4 separate regions of the Homo sapiens genome follow, and regions 1, 3 and 4 are each linked to region 2. Evidence: promoter capture Hi-C in 16 types of primary human blood cells and fetal thymus (Javierre and others, 2016). All regions are on one chromosome and are shown on one strand. The core of a region is centred on a gene start or on the middle of the fragment in contact, and the rest is flanking DNA. Distances in the headings are between cores, read along the strand shown. Region 1 holds the start of RSU1 (Ras suppressor protein 1). Region 2 holds the start of ACBD7 (acyl-CoA binding domain containing 7). Region 3 overlaps FRMD4A (FERM domain containing 4A). Region 4 holds the start of PRPF18 (pre-mRNA processing factor 18).

Evidence for each region. The method cuts DNA at HindIII sites, captures the fragments that hold promoters and counts their contacts. A CHiCAGO score of 5 or more calls a contact.
Region 1: the fragment with the promoter of RSU1 here is called in contact with the fragment with the promoter of ACBD7 in region 2 in 5 of 17 cell types (fetal thymus, neutrophils, activated CD4 T cells and 2 more); the score reaches 9.2 in fetal thymus.
Region 3: a contact is called between a fragment that was not itself captured here and the fragment with the promoter of ACBD7 in region 2, in 1 of 17 cell types (total B cells). The highest score is 5.7, in total B cells.
Region 4: a contact is called between the fragment with the promoter of PRPF18 here and the fragment with the promoter of ACBD7 in region 2, in 1 of 17 cell types (total B cells). The highest score is 7.3, in total B cells.

The regions. Positions count from the first base shown.
Region 1 is chr10:16,816,004-16,818,754 of GRCh38, forward strand. It overlaps RSU1 (Ras suppressor protein 1), which reads right to left and starts at 1,421. Exons shown (of 9, transcript NM_012425.4): 1 at 1,312-1,421; 2 at 970-1,081. The coding sequence starts at 1,078. LOC105376435 (a long non-coding RNA gene) reads left to right here and starts at 1,696. Exons shown (of 3, transcript XR_930708.3): 1 at 1,696-1,753; 2 at 2,678-2,739. RefSeq lists enhancers at 900-1,059, 1,730-1,839, 1,870-1,959, 1,990-2,039. The HindIII fragment of the contact is 3,392 bases long and covers 1,352-2,751 here.
Region 2 is chr10:15,087,429-15,090,329 of GRCh38, forward strand. ACBD7 (acyl-CoA binding domain containing 7) reads right to left here and starts at 1,348. Exons shown (of 4, transcript NM_001039844.3): 1 at 1,289-1,348. The coding sequence starts at 1,300. ACBD7-DCLRE1CP1 (ACBD7-DCLRE1CP1 readthrough) reads right to left here and starts at 1,348. Exons shown (of 8, transcript NR_144471.1): 1 at 1,289-1,348. RefSeq lists a silencer at 1,133-1,522. The HindIII fragment of the contact is 6,812 bases long and covers 1-2,901 here.
Region 3 is chr10:13,781,339-13,784,164 of GRCh38, forward strand. It overlaps FRMD4A (FERM domain containing 4A), which reads right to left. Exons shown (of 25, transcript NM_018027.5): 6 at 1,584-1,668. Among named protein-coding and RNA genes, the nearest start is that of PRPF18, 200 kb to the left of the region's middle. The HindIII fragment of the contact is 4,685 bases long and covers 1-2,826 here.
Region 4 is chr10:13,585,480-13,588,448 of GRCh38, forward strand. PRPF18 (pre-mRNA processing factor 18) reads left to right here and starts at 1,486. Exons shown (of 10, transcript NM_003675.4): 1 at 1,486-1,673. The coding sequence starts at 1,608. RefSeq lists enhancers at 1,441-1,780, 1,956-2,551. The HindIII fragment of the contact is 3,512 bases long and covers 1-2,969 here.

The DNA.
Region 1 (2,751 bases), core at 171-2,670, 1.7 Mb after region 2:
ACGCCAAGAAACCTGGAGCATTACCGTCGATAATGGACAACCTGGAGAAGTGCGGAGAGGGTTTAAACCAAAGCCACGTCAGCCTGAAGAACTGCTTTAGCTCACTTATCACAGGTTTTTCAAATATTAGAATTAGTAGCCAACATCTAAAAATTAGCAAATTTCACATAAAAATATAGAATCTTGGTTCCTTTAAGAAAATAATCTGGCACATTGGGCCAACATTCCTATGGTGACATGTGTCTGAGTAGCAGGTGCAGCAGCTGGCCCCTTCAAGTGGGACACCTATCACCTAGTTCATAACCGCCCCTGACCGCCCTCACTTGGAGGCATGTGAATCTGCAATCCCTGGTTTTAAGGGAGAGGGTAACACCATAGACAGGGGTTACAGGAAAATGACACTGAAAGTGACCCAGTGATTAAACTGGGCAGTGAAACTGAAGGCAAGAGGGCAAGTTAGGAGGATTTCACCACAGCATGAGGAGGTGACAAAAGCCTGAACCAAGTTCGGAGAATAAATACTCAGAAGAATGTAAAGATTCAAGAAATGCTTAAAACGCTCCAGGCACAAGAATGCTTATTAACCATGGAACTTTTCTGTGTCATTTGTTCATGGACAAAGACTGTATTAGGAGACAGGAAGAAGGACTCAAAATTAATTTTCAATTTATAATTAAAGTGACTATTAAGCAAACTGTGGAAAATCCACCTCAATGCCATACAGCAGAGACAACCGATGAGGCACAGCTGTCTGTGTGATTCTCATCGTGGACTCTCAGGATCGTTTTCCAGGTGGAACAGAACAAATCCTACTGCAAACCCTCTGCGCGAAGCCCCTGACAAGTGAGGTTTACAAGCAGGGGCTGGGGTCTAAACCAGTACAATCGCTCACAGCAGGACCAGCAGTGAATTGGCAAACTTAGAAAGCCTTCCAGCTCATCCACGGGAGAGTCCTGCCCGAGAACTCACAGAGGCCGTTGACATCCAGCATGTTGGAGATGCCCCGGTCACTCATGTCCACCTCGGGCTGGTTCTTCTCCCGGCTCTCCTCCACCAACTTCTTCAGAGACTTGGACATGGTCTGCACCGAACAACAACAAAGCACGTGGGCGATGACAGCAAGCGCAGAGGCGGAAAGGCAAGAGGCCTTCGCTGCCACTCTGAGGCTTCCCCAGGGTTGGAGCGGGTGGGCGTCCGAGGGCGTCCCAGGGGCTGGTCCGGGTGCGGGGAGGGGATGGAGTGGGAAGGGTTCAGCCCCGCTGCGGCCACGCAGCGAGAAGCAACCCCAAGTGCAACACCGCACACACTCACCACGGAAGGTAGCCCCTAAGACGATGGGCGTGCAACCACAAGCTTCGGCAGAACGCACTCCAGCTGCCCTCACTCCCTGCAACACCGGCACTGAACAGCGAACACGCCCTGTCTCGGCGCCCCGCGCAGGCGCACACAGCGCCGCTGCCAGCTCCACGCCCGACCCTACCCATATTAGGAGAACAGCTCTCCAGACGTGTCTCCAGGGCCAGGCTCCGCCCTTAAAAGTCTGTGGAAGAGGCTGGCTAATCACGTTCGTTATTCGGCTTCGAGACCCCGCCCCACGCTGAGGATAGTTTATCCCGGTGGCGTCCACCCCACGGTTTGGGACGCTGATTGGGCCGAAGTTGGCGCGTGCGCAGTAGACTTGGCGCAAGCTCAGTTGATGGGTCGAAGCCCAGAGGGCTGTGGGCGGAAGTGGGGAAGTTTGTGGCGTGACTGTGTAAGGGAGGGTGGTGGCTCAGGGTGGGTGTTGCGAAAGCTGGAAGTAAATTGCTTCCGAATGTTTCGCTTGTGTAATAGCCGCTCCACTCGCCAGAAGTTGCTACCCTGAGCCCGTCTCCACAATGTGCCTCTGAGGGACCTTGTGGGGCACGCAGTTTCCCGCCCTATTAAGAGCTTCTCCAGGCGGGGATTCCGGCGCGGTCTGCGTTTCCCCAGCGCCCTGCTGGAAATCTTTTTTGACAGGTTTCTAAGGCTGGCTTTTAGCCTTTTTACTTGTAGCTAGAACCTACAAGTAAAACCCTACTATTTTAAAAGTCATTTGAAAACACCACTAAAGCGATGTGTCTTTCCCAACTAGGACTTTTACATTTGTGAAACATGACGTTCTGGCTTCCAGGAATCTCTTGCTTTCTCTTCCAAAAGCAACCAAATTTTAAATTCTAGAGAAACTGTTGCCCTCTGCCTCCCTATTTCCTGACCCAGTCTCAGTCACCCAGCAACATCCTGTGCTTCTCTCACCAAAAACCCTGTCCTGAGAGACTATTTTATACTATGGAATAAAAATTGGCACCAGGCACTTTTCTTCTACTGGTCACCTAAATTGATGATAAGACGGATGCCACACATATGCATTTATATATTGTAGATTGTAGCAGGGATCAAAGCCTTAAGGAGATGTGGTAAAATAATGTAATTATATCTCCGAACCAATTGGATAAAAAAAGGATCTGCACTCTTAAATTCGAAAGCAGGTATTTCTTGCTTAAAAAACATTCCAGATGAAAGAGTTATTCCTCCATTAGTCTTCTTTGATCTGGAACCGTCCTTGGCTTTTATGTTTATTGAACTAGACATTATTTAAGAATACAGACCAGGTATTGTGTGGAATATCCTTCAAAGTAAGTTTGATGTTCCCTTTCAGGTTATGAATTTTTGGAGAAACACCACTAAAGCGATGTGTCTTTTCCAGTGCATGATATCAAGGTACAGATGGCA
Region 2 (2,901 bases), core at 98-2,597:
TGAAATGGTTAAAGAAGTGAGCCACGTTCTATGAAATTTTGTGCATGTAAAAGATTACATTTTAGAGGCCGGGCGTGGTGGCTCACGCCTGAAATCCCAGCACTTTGGGTGTCCAAGGCGGGTGGATCACTTGAGGTCAGGAGTTGGAGACCAGTCTGGCCAACACAGCGAAACCCCATCTCCACTAAAAATAGAGAAAAATAGCCAGGAGTGGCGGCGCACGCCTATAATCCCAGCTATTTGGGAGGCTGAGATAGGAGAATCACTTGAACTTGGGAGGCGGAGGTTGCGGTGAGCTGAGATTGCACCACTGCACTCCAGCCTGGGTGACAGAGTGAGACTCCATCTCAAACAGCCTGGGTGACAGAATGAGACTCCATCTTAAAAAAAAAAAAAAAAAATTACAAAAATCAGCCGGGCGTGGTGGCGTGCACCTGTAACCCCAGCTACTGCGGAGGCTGAGACATGAGAATCGCTTACACCTGGGAGGTGGAGGTTGCAGTGAGCAGAGGTTGCAGTGAGCAGAGATCGCACCAACTGCGCCTCAACCTGGGCAACAGAATGAGACTCTGTCTCAAAAAAGAAAAATAAAATTACATTTTAGAATATTTAATAATGAGAAAATGCTCATATTACTGTTTTACGTGTAGGAATAAAACTATATACACAATAACATCATAGGTATGTGTGTAGATATATGCCACACACATACACACATGGAAAATAACATACTAGGACATACTAGGAATTACCCTAGCATGTAGCAGTGATTATCACCTGGGTGAAGGAATTATCATTGGATTATTATCAGTAATTATTACTTTATATTTGTTGTCTTTTCCAAAGTTTTCCACCCTTAACAATTTTTTTCACATACCTATAAAACAGTATTTTTAAATTGGAGCCTCACAGATCTCTTCTGCTCAGTATGACACTAAGAGAGGTCCTGGAGGTCCCAACGAGCGAAGGGGCGGGAGCGGGGGATCTCGACTCCCTCTCGGAGACGGAGAGGAGGAGGCCCGCTCCGTGCTCCCCGGCGCTCCTGCCTTGCCTGCTTTTCCGCTCACCCGGCCCCTGGGGTCCGGAAGGGTTGCCCTGGGAGCCCTGGCTCGCCGTCAGCAGGCACAGGTGCGGTCTACACTGCCATCTGGGGCGCTGGGGAAGGAGTGGGCGTGTCCCCCGGGTCACCGCCGACCGCTCCCAGGGGCGCCAAGCCCACCCGGAGCCCCACTTAAGCACTCCCCTCGCGGAGCGCCCCTCCCGCGTGGCCTCCCCGCGCCCCGGGTACCTGCAGGGCCATGGTGGCGGCTGCCGCGTTGTTGCTGCTGCTGTTGTCGTCCGGTGCTCTGCCCCCTCTCGCACCCACCGCTTCTTAAACGGCCGCGTCTCCTCCGGCCGCTGCCATTGGCCGCGCTCCCGGCCCGGCCGCCTCCCATTGGTCGCGGGCGCGGGGGCGAGGCTGGGCGGTGAGCGGTACTGCACGCCGGGTTCCCCAGGCTGCAAATGGAAAGGCGAAGACAGGAGAATTTAAATGAGTTTCTCTCCGCTCTTGGCTCTCTCTTCTATTCTTTCTCAAGCGGTTCTTTGCAGGAAACCCAGAGAGGTCTCCGTAGGGCACAGGCCTCCCCTGGAATGCCTTCGAAAGAAAGAAAGAAGGAGAGAGACAGAGAGAGAGAGAGAGAGAGAAAAAATATATATATATATAGAGAGAGAGATATATATTTATCTAGAGAGACCCGCCCCAACTCTCTTAAAATACATATGTAATTTTTTCAATTTAAAAAAATTTATACATGTAAATATGTATTGGCCGGGCGCGGTGCCTCACGCCTGTAATCCCAACACTTTGGGAGGCTGAGGCCGGCAGATCACCTGAGGTCGGGAGTTCGAGACCAGCCTGACCAACATGGAGAAACCCTGTCTCTACTAAAAATACAAAATTAGCCGGGTGTGGTGGCGCATACCTGTAATCCCAGTTACTCGGGAGGCTGAGGCAGGAGAATCGCTTGAACCCGGGAGGTGGAGGCTGTGGTGAGCCAAGATTGCACCATTGCACTCCAGCCTGGGCAACAAGTGTGAAACTCCGTCTCAAAAAAAAAAAAGAATAAGTAAATATGTATTTAAAATTTTATAAATTAAAAATTTATATATATAAATTTTTTTCAGAGGTTGGGGTCTTCCTAGGTATATATATATTATATATTTTTTCTCTAAAAATTATATATAAATTTATATATATTTAAAATGTTAAAAATTAAAAATTTTATAAATTAAAAGTGCAAATTAAAAAATATATATATATGTGTTTTTTTTTTTTTTAAGAGAGGTGGTGGGGGGGGCGTCTCACTAGGTTGCCCAGGCTGGTCTCGAACTCCTGACCTCAAGCGATCCTCCCACCTCGGCTTCCCGAAGCACAGGATTCCTTCTTTATACATACTTCTCTCATGTCCATTATTCCTAGAAACGTGGATGATGGATGTGTCTCCTCCACGCTGCCTCCAGGCGCTGTTTATCATGAGAGAAAGTGGCCTGTGGTTTGCACCTCTTCTCTTTATAAAGCAAAACCACCTAAATTCTGGACACATGCTATAATCAGCTTAACTTGTTTTTAATTATGGTAAAGGCACAGGACTAAACGCCTATTCAATTTGACTCAGTTTTCTAGGGGAACAAACCCAATGTCACTCCAAGTCTGCAGACACACCGAATAGGATTACATTTCCAAAGGACTGGAACCGAATTGGGTGGTCACATGAGAAGCTAATTTCCGACACTTCGCATAAATAGTAGCATTGGTGGAGAAGGGTGACTGGGAGAAAAAAGAAACTCAATGTCAGCAAAGTGACTGAGCTTCAACGTACAACAATGCAACAAGAAACCTTTCAGCTTGCTTTTGCATAA
Region 3 (2,826 bases), core at 217-2,716, 1.3 Mb before region 2:
TTCTGATACACGCTACAACATGGATGAACCTTTTTTTTTTTTTTTTTTTTTTTTTCTGAGACAGAGTTTTGCTCTGTTGCCCAGGCTGGAGTGCAGTGGTATGATCTCGGCTCACTGTAACCTCCACCTCCCAGGTTCAAGAGATTTTCCTGCCTCAGCCTCCCAAATACCTAGAATCACAGACACAAAACACCACATCTGGCTAATTTTTGTATTTTTAATAGAGATGGGGTTCCGCCATGTTGGCCAGGCTAGTCTCAAACTCCTGACCTCAGGTGATCCGCCTGCCTCGGCCTCCCAAAGTGCTGGGATTACAGGCATGAGCCACCACACACAGCCAACATGGATGAACCTTGAGGCCATTATGCTAGGTAAAGTAAGCCAGACACAAAAGGACAAATATATATGATTCCACTTATATGAAGTACTAGAGTGGTTAAATTCATGGAGACAAAAAGTAGTGGTTGCCAGTGGCTGAGGAAAACGGGGAAGGGGAAGTTGTTTAATGAGTACAGAGTTTCAGTTTAGCAGATGAAAAGAGCTCTTGGGTGAATGACGGTGGGGATGGTTATACAACATTGTGAGTGTACTGAATGCCGCTGAACTGCACACTTAAAAATGGCGGAGACTACAAACTGACTTCCGTGTATGCTGCTCGAGTGAAGGGTGCACCAAATTCTCACAAATCACAACTAAAGAACTTACTCATGTAACTAAATACCACCTGTTCCCCAAAAACCTATGGAAATATAAAAATATTTTCCAAAATGGTTAAGATAGTAAATGTATGTGCATTTTACAATTTTTTTTAAAAAAGAAACTGTCTCAAAGTGACAATAGCGTCCCTTTGAAAGATGCTGCTAGACCAACTAAAAATGGTCAAATATACACGTATTTGGTTATAAGAAGCTCATTCCTATCTGCAAGACCTGTCTAAGTTGACTGGTGCATTTGTCATACTTGTCTAGGCTTTTCACCTTTGTCTCAGTTGACAAAGAAATCTTTAAAATCAGGAGACCTTTAAAATAAGGTTAGGAAACATGTCCACAGAGCCAGAAACACAGCCATGGATCAAAGGAATCACATTATTATTATTATTATTATTATTCCTTTTTTTTTTTTTTGAGATGGAGTCTCCGCCTGTCACCAGGCTGGAGTGCAGTGGCGTGATCTTAGCTCACTGCAACCTCCACCTCCCAGGTTCAAGCAATTCTCCTGCCTCACCCTCCCAAGTAGCTGGGACTACAGGCATGTGCCACCATGCCTAGCTAATTTTTATATTTTTAGTAGAGACAGGGTTTCACCACGTTGGCCAGGATAATCTCAATCTCTTGACCACGTGATCCACCCGCCTCGGCCTCCCAAAGTGTTGGGATTACAGGCGTGAGCCAGCGCGCCGGGTCAGGAATCACATTATTAAATGGTGCCGTTAGCTTCATAACATTCCATTTATTTATAGTAATTAATTTATAAATGACTTCTCCTAATCAATAAAATGGCCTAAGGGGTAACACTTTGGAATTTCCAGCTTCAAATGATACTTTCAGGTTTCAGAGGGAAATTGAGGGAGAGGGAGTTCCTACCTTGTAGATGCAGGACTTCGCGTTCAGAAAGAAAAGCTCAATGGTAGCATTATCCTTCAGGTATGAAATGCTTTCTATATAGAACCTGAAAGAGAAAAATGGTGCGTGAACCACAGAAACAGCAGGTGCAGAAAATAAAGTGCTCTCTTGAGCTACATGATTTGAGATGAAAGCTGGCATTCCCCATCCTAAATAAACAAAGGAAAAAGGCACCATCCATGGTTTTTCTATGATTCCCTAGGGAGGACAAACTGTTTTTGGAGTTTTGATAGTGGCTTAGGGTCACGCCTAATGGGCCTCACCATAACCAAAGAACTGGGTCTACCACCAATTTGTAAGAACAAATTCTAAAACTAGGCCTCTGATTTCTTTGTCCTATCTGCTTTATAATTTTACATAATGTTATTTGTTTTCATCACATTGCTTGTTTGTCCTAAATTGTCATTGAGTTGGATTTTCTTTTCTTCTCCTTTTTTTTCTTTTTTTAGACAGGGTCTCGCTCTGTTGTCCAGGCTGGAGTGCAGTGGTGCATGGCTTACTGCAGCCTTGACCTCCCAGGCTCAAGCAACCTTCCCGCCTCAGCTTCCTGAGCAGCTGAGACTACAGTTGCATACCACCACGCCTAATTTTTTTTTTTTTTTGTAGATACGGAGTCTTCCTTTGTTGCTCAGGCTGGGCTCAAATTATCTGCCCACCTCAGCCTCCCGAAATGCTGGGGTAATAGATGTGAGCCACTGTGCCCAGCCAAGTTGGATTTTTAAAAGATAATTTCTTCTTAATCACAGCTTTCTTTGAAATGGTTACTACTACTCCCGAAGGTGGTGAAGTGTGATTTGATTTCTGCACATTCGGAGAGCTATGCTAAGTGCTCTTAACACTGTGATATGAATGCATATTAAGCCAAATGAGAATCGGATTTCATCTAGATGGAGCTTATAGATATTTTCAAGATGAAACATGCTGCCATTATTTAAGTTTACACTAAATGTGCCTTTATAATATTGACTTTGGAGTTTATTAAATTCTTTAATGAGATAATGCGCTTGTACTGTCTAATGACCAGCCGCACTGAAGGACTAGGAGTTGAAAGGAAGAGAGGGGAAAGGTTGAAATGCAACATCTTGGAGGGAAGAAGGTTCTGAGCAGGTGTAGCAACCCTTAGGGTGGACTAGGAGGGTGCTGGGTACCTGGGGCTCTTGGAAACTGGGTTCACCAAGAAGAGGCAGAAGGTGAGGAAGGTGAA
Region 4 (2,969 bases), core at 236-2,735, 1.5 Mb before region 2:
ACTGACAGTTTCCCAGGTAGCCAGCCGTTGTGTTCTCTGTAAACTTCCATTGCTGTTACTGTCATCTGTCTTAACCCTTCAGGTTTTTTTTGTGTCTAACAATCCCTAATCCCTAAATCAGGAAAATGCTAATAAATTATTATTTGCTCATTGATTAGTGAGGGAAACCCATATTCATGCAAGAGTGTTGCCATATTTAGTTCAAGGACATTTTCCTGTGTTGGCTTATTTCTGGCAAAAGTCAGGTATATTTTATTTTATTTTGTTTTGTTTTTGAGACAAAGTCTTGCTCTATCACCCAGGCTGGACTGCAGTGGCATGATCCCGGCTCACTGCAACCTCCATCTCCCGGATTCAAGCAATTCTCCTGTCTCAGCCTCCTGAGTAGCTAGGACTATAGGCACCTGCCACCACGCCTGGCTAATTTTTGTATTTTTAGTAGAGACGGGATTTCACCATGCTGGCCAGGCTGGTCTTGAACTCCTGACCTCAGGTGATCTGTCCACCTCGGCCTCCCAAAGTTCTGGGATTACAGGGGTGAGCCACCCCGTCTGGCCTCAGATATCTTTTAGATGAAGTATCACCCCCCACAAAAGACTTTCTAAATTGAAATAATTCAATTGTTCATTTTTTTGTTTTGTAAAGCATTTTACCCATTATCAGCTGACTCAACAAAATGATATTTCTTACCTTTTTTGAGTAAGAAAAACGAAATGTCAAATATTGTTCAATTATGATTTCACAAAAACAATTTTTAAACGTGCTTCAATGACATGAAAAAAATAAGTCCACTGTAAACAAATGTTAGGGACTTAAAAAATCTCTGACATAATTTTTCTCTTCAATTTAACTTTTTTTCCCTTGGGTTGGATTTAAAAAAAAAAAAGGAATTTCTGATTACATCTCCAATCATGTCACTGAAAAATCTTGATTGCTGAACACATGACCAAAAAATGATTAGTTAGCTTGAGGTAAATGTTCAATTATCACCAAGATTGGTAAGCAATCTAAAACAGAGGGAGTGAAGATAAATTGACTTCCAAACTGCTTTAAATGGTTGTAGTCGTTTAAGTTCACAGGAAATTTAACAGGCTAGTAATGAACAGACAGCCCTTTCACTCTATTGTTACAAGTTAGTATTATTGTTTAGATTTTTCTCATCCTTTTGCAAATTTTGCAAGCAAGTAACTTCAGAAACCCTAATGTAAATTTCCAGTTAATAAAGATCTTGATTTAACTGGCATTATTGAGGTGTTCTTCGAGAGGCTTTTGGAACTCAACTAGCAGGTGCAGAGAGTACTACAAAGACCCGGGTTTCCGTCCACGTTCACGTAAACCTCCCTACGAGGGGAAACTACAGGCGCGCTGCCGGAGGGCGCCGCCAGTGGGCACTCACGCACAGCTGCTTTGGCCACCACAGGCGCCCCGGGCCACTCTCTTCCCTCATCTCTCTCATCCCAGCTTCCGCCGGAAGCGGCTCCTGTCAGTTGTTCTCAGGTGTTTGGGCTTGTTGTTCCGTATACTCAGTGGGTTCGCGGCCGCCGGCCCAGTGAGGCTGGGTTCGAGGAGCTGGAGCGGGAAACTGGAGCTTAAATTCTGGCGGCGAGATGGACATTCTGAAATCAGAGATCCTTCGGAAGCGGCAGCTGGTGGAGGACAGGAACCTGCTGGTGGTGAGGACCCTGCGGTCGTGGGGGTCGGGATGTAAGAGTGAGAGTATGTGTGTCGGGGTTTTGGGGTGAGGGTGACGATACTCAGAGGATTCGGGGCGGGGACGGGGCTTAGCGAGTGTCCTGCCACTACCCCTGGTAGGCCCCCTTAGATCCAACCCTTGGCGTCTCACTGTTGAGGCTGGAGAATAGGGTCTGAGAGCAGGGAACTTGAGTACAATTCGTGCTGACTTCCCAAAGCTGGATCAAAAGGAAAACACCTGGGTCTGGGGGCGGGAACCTGAGGCCAATTAACGCCCACGTCCAAAAGCCAAACCAAAAGAAAAATCCTCATCTTCCCACCACCGAGTAGCAAAGGCTTCAGGCTGCGGCTCTCCCCGCATCCCTGCCTTTCCACCACCTCTCAGATGGGAAGGGAACGTGCCCTGCATTGGCCGTGGGCCAATCACGGGCCATCCCTTCATCTGCATAGGGCGCCAGTTCACCTCAGTCTTTAGCCACAGACCGAACCCTTCATCCAGATACGGGGTAGCTGATAGGGACCTCAGAAGGAGTACCTAAAACCCGGAAAACTTTGTAACCGGGGCCTCGAGCCGCTTGCTCGGGCCCACTCACACCCTGTGGAGTGCTTTCTCGCGTTCATAAGTCCCTACTTTTGCTGCTTCATTCCTGTGTTTTGTTACTTTTTTTGTGCGTTTTGTCCAATTCTTTGTTCAAAACGCCAAGGACCCGGGCAACTTACACTCACGGCCTTCTTTCCGGTAACCACTTGGGAGCCTTAGGGATGCAGGTGTGGGAATTGCAGGAAAACCCGAGGCTTTGTTTGTTTTCCCCCGACTGACCCTGTTTCCCTCCAGTTTACCTAACTGCCCCCTATCCCCGCTCCTACCTGTTGGCATTCTGCGGACGTGCCCCAGTGCTCCTGAGAGTTCCCTTCTGTCGCCTTACGAAGGGTTTGTGCCCAACTGAAACATGGAGGAAGGGCCGCCGGGCGCGGTGGCTCACACCTGTAATCCCCACACTTTGGTGGGCAGATCACCTGAGGTCAGGAGTTCGAGACCAGCCTGGCAAACATGGTGAAACCCCGTCTCTACTAAAAACACCAAAATTAGCTGGGCGTGGTGGTGCGCGCCTGTAATCCCAGCTACTCAGGAGGCTGAGGCCAGAGAATCACTTGAACCCGGGAGGCGGAGGTTGCCGTGAGCCGACATCGCACCACTGCACTCCTGCCTGGGCGACAGAGTGAGACACCGTCTCAAAAAAAAAAAAAAATTCCTTCTAGCCAGGTGTGGTGGTGCG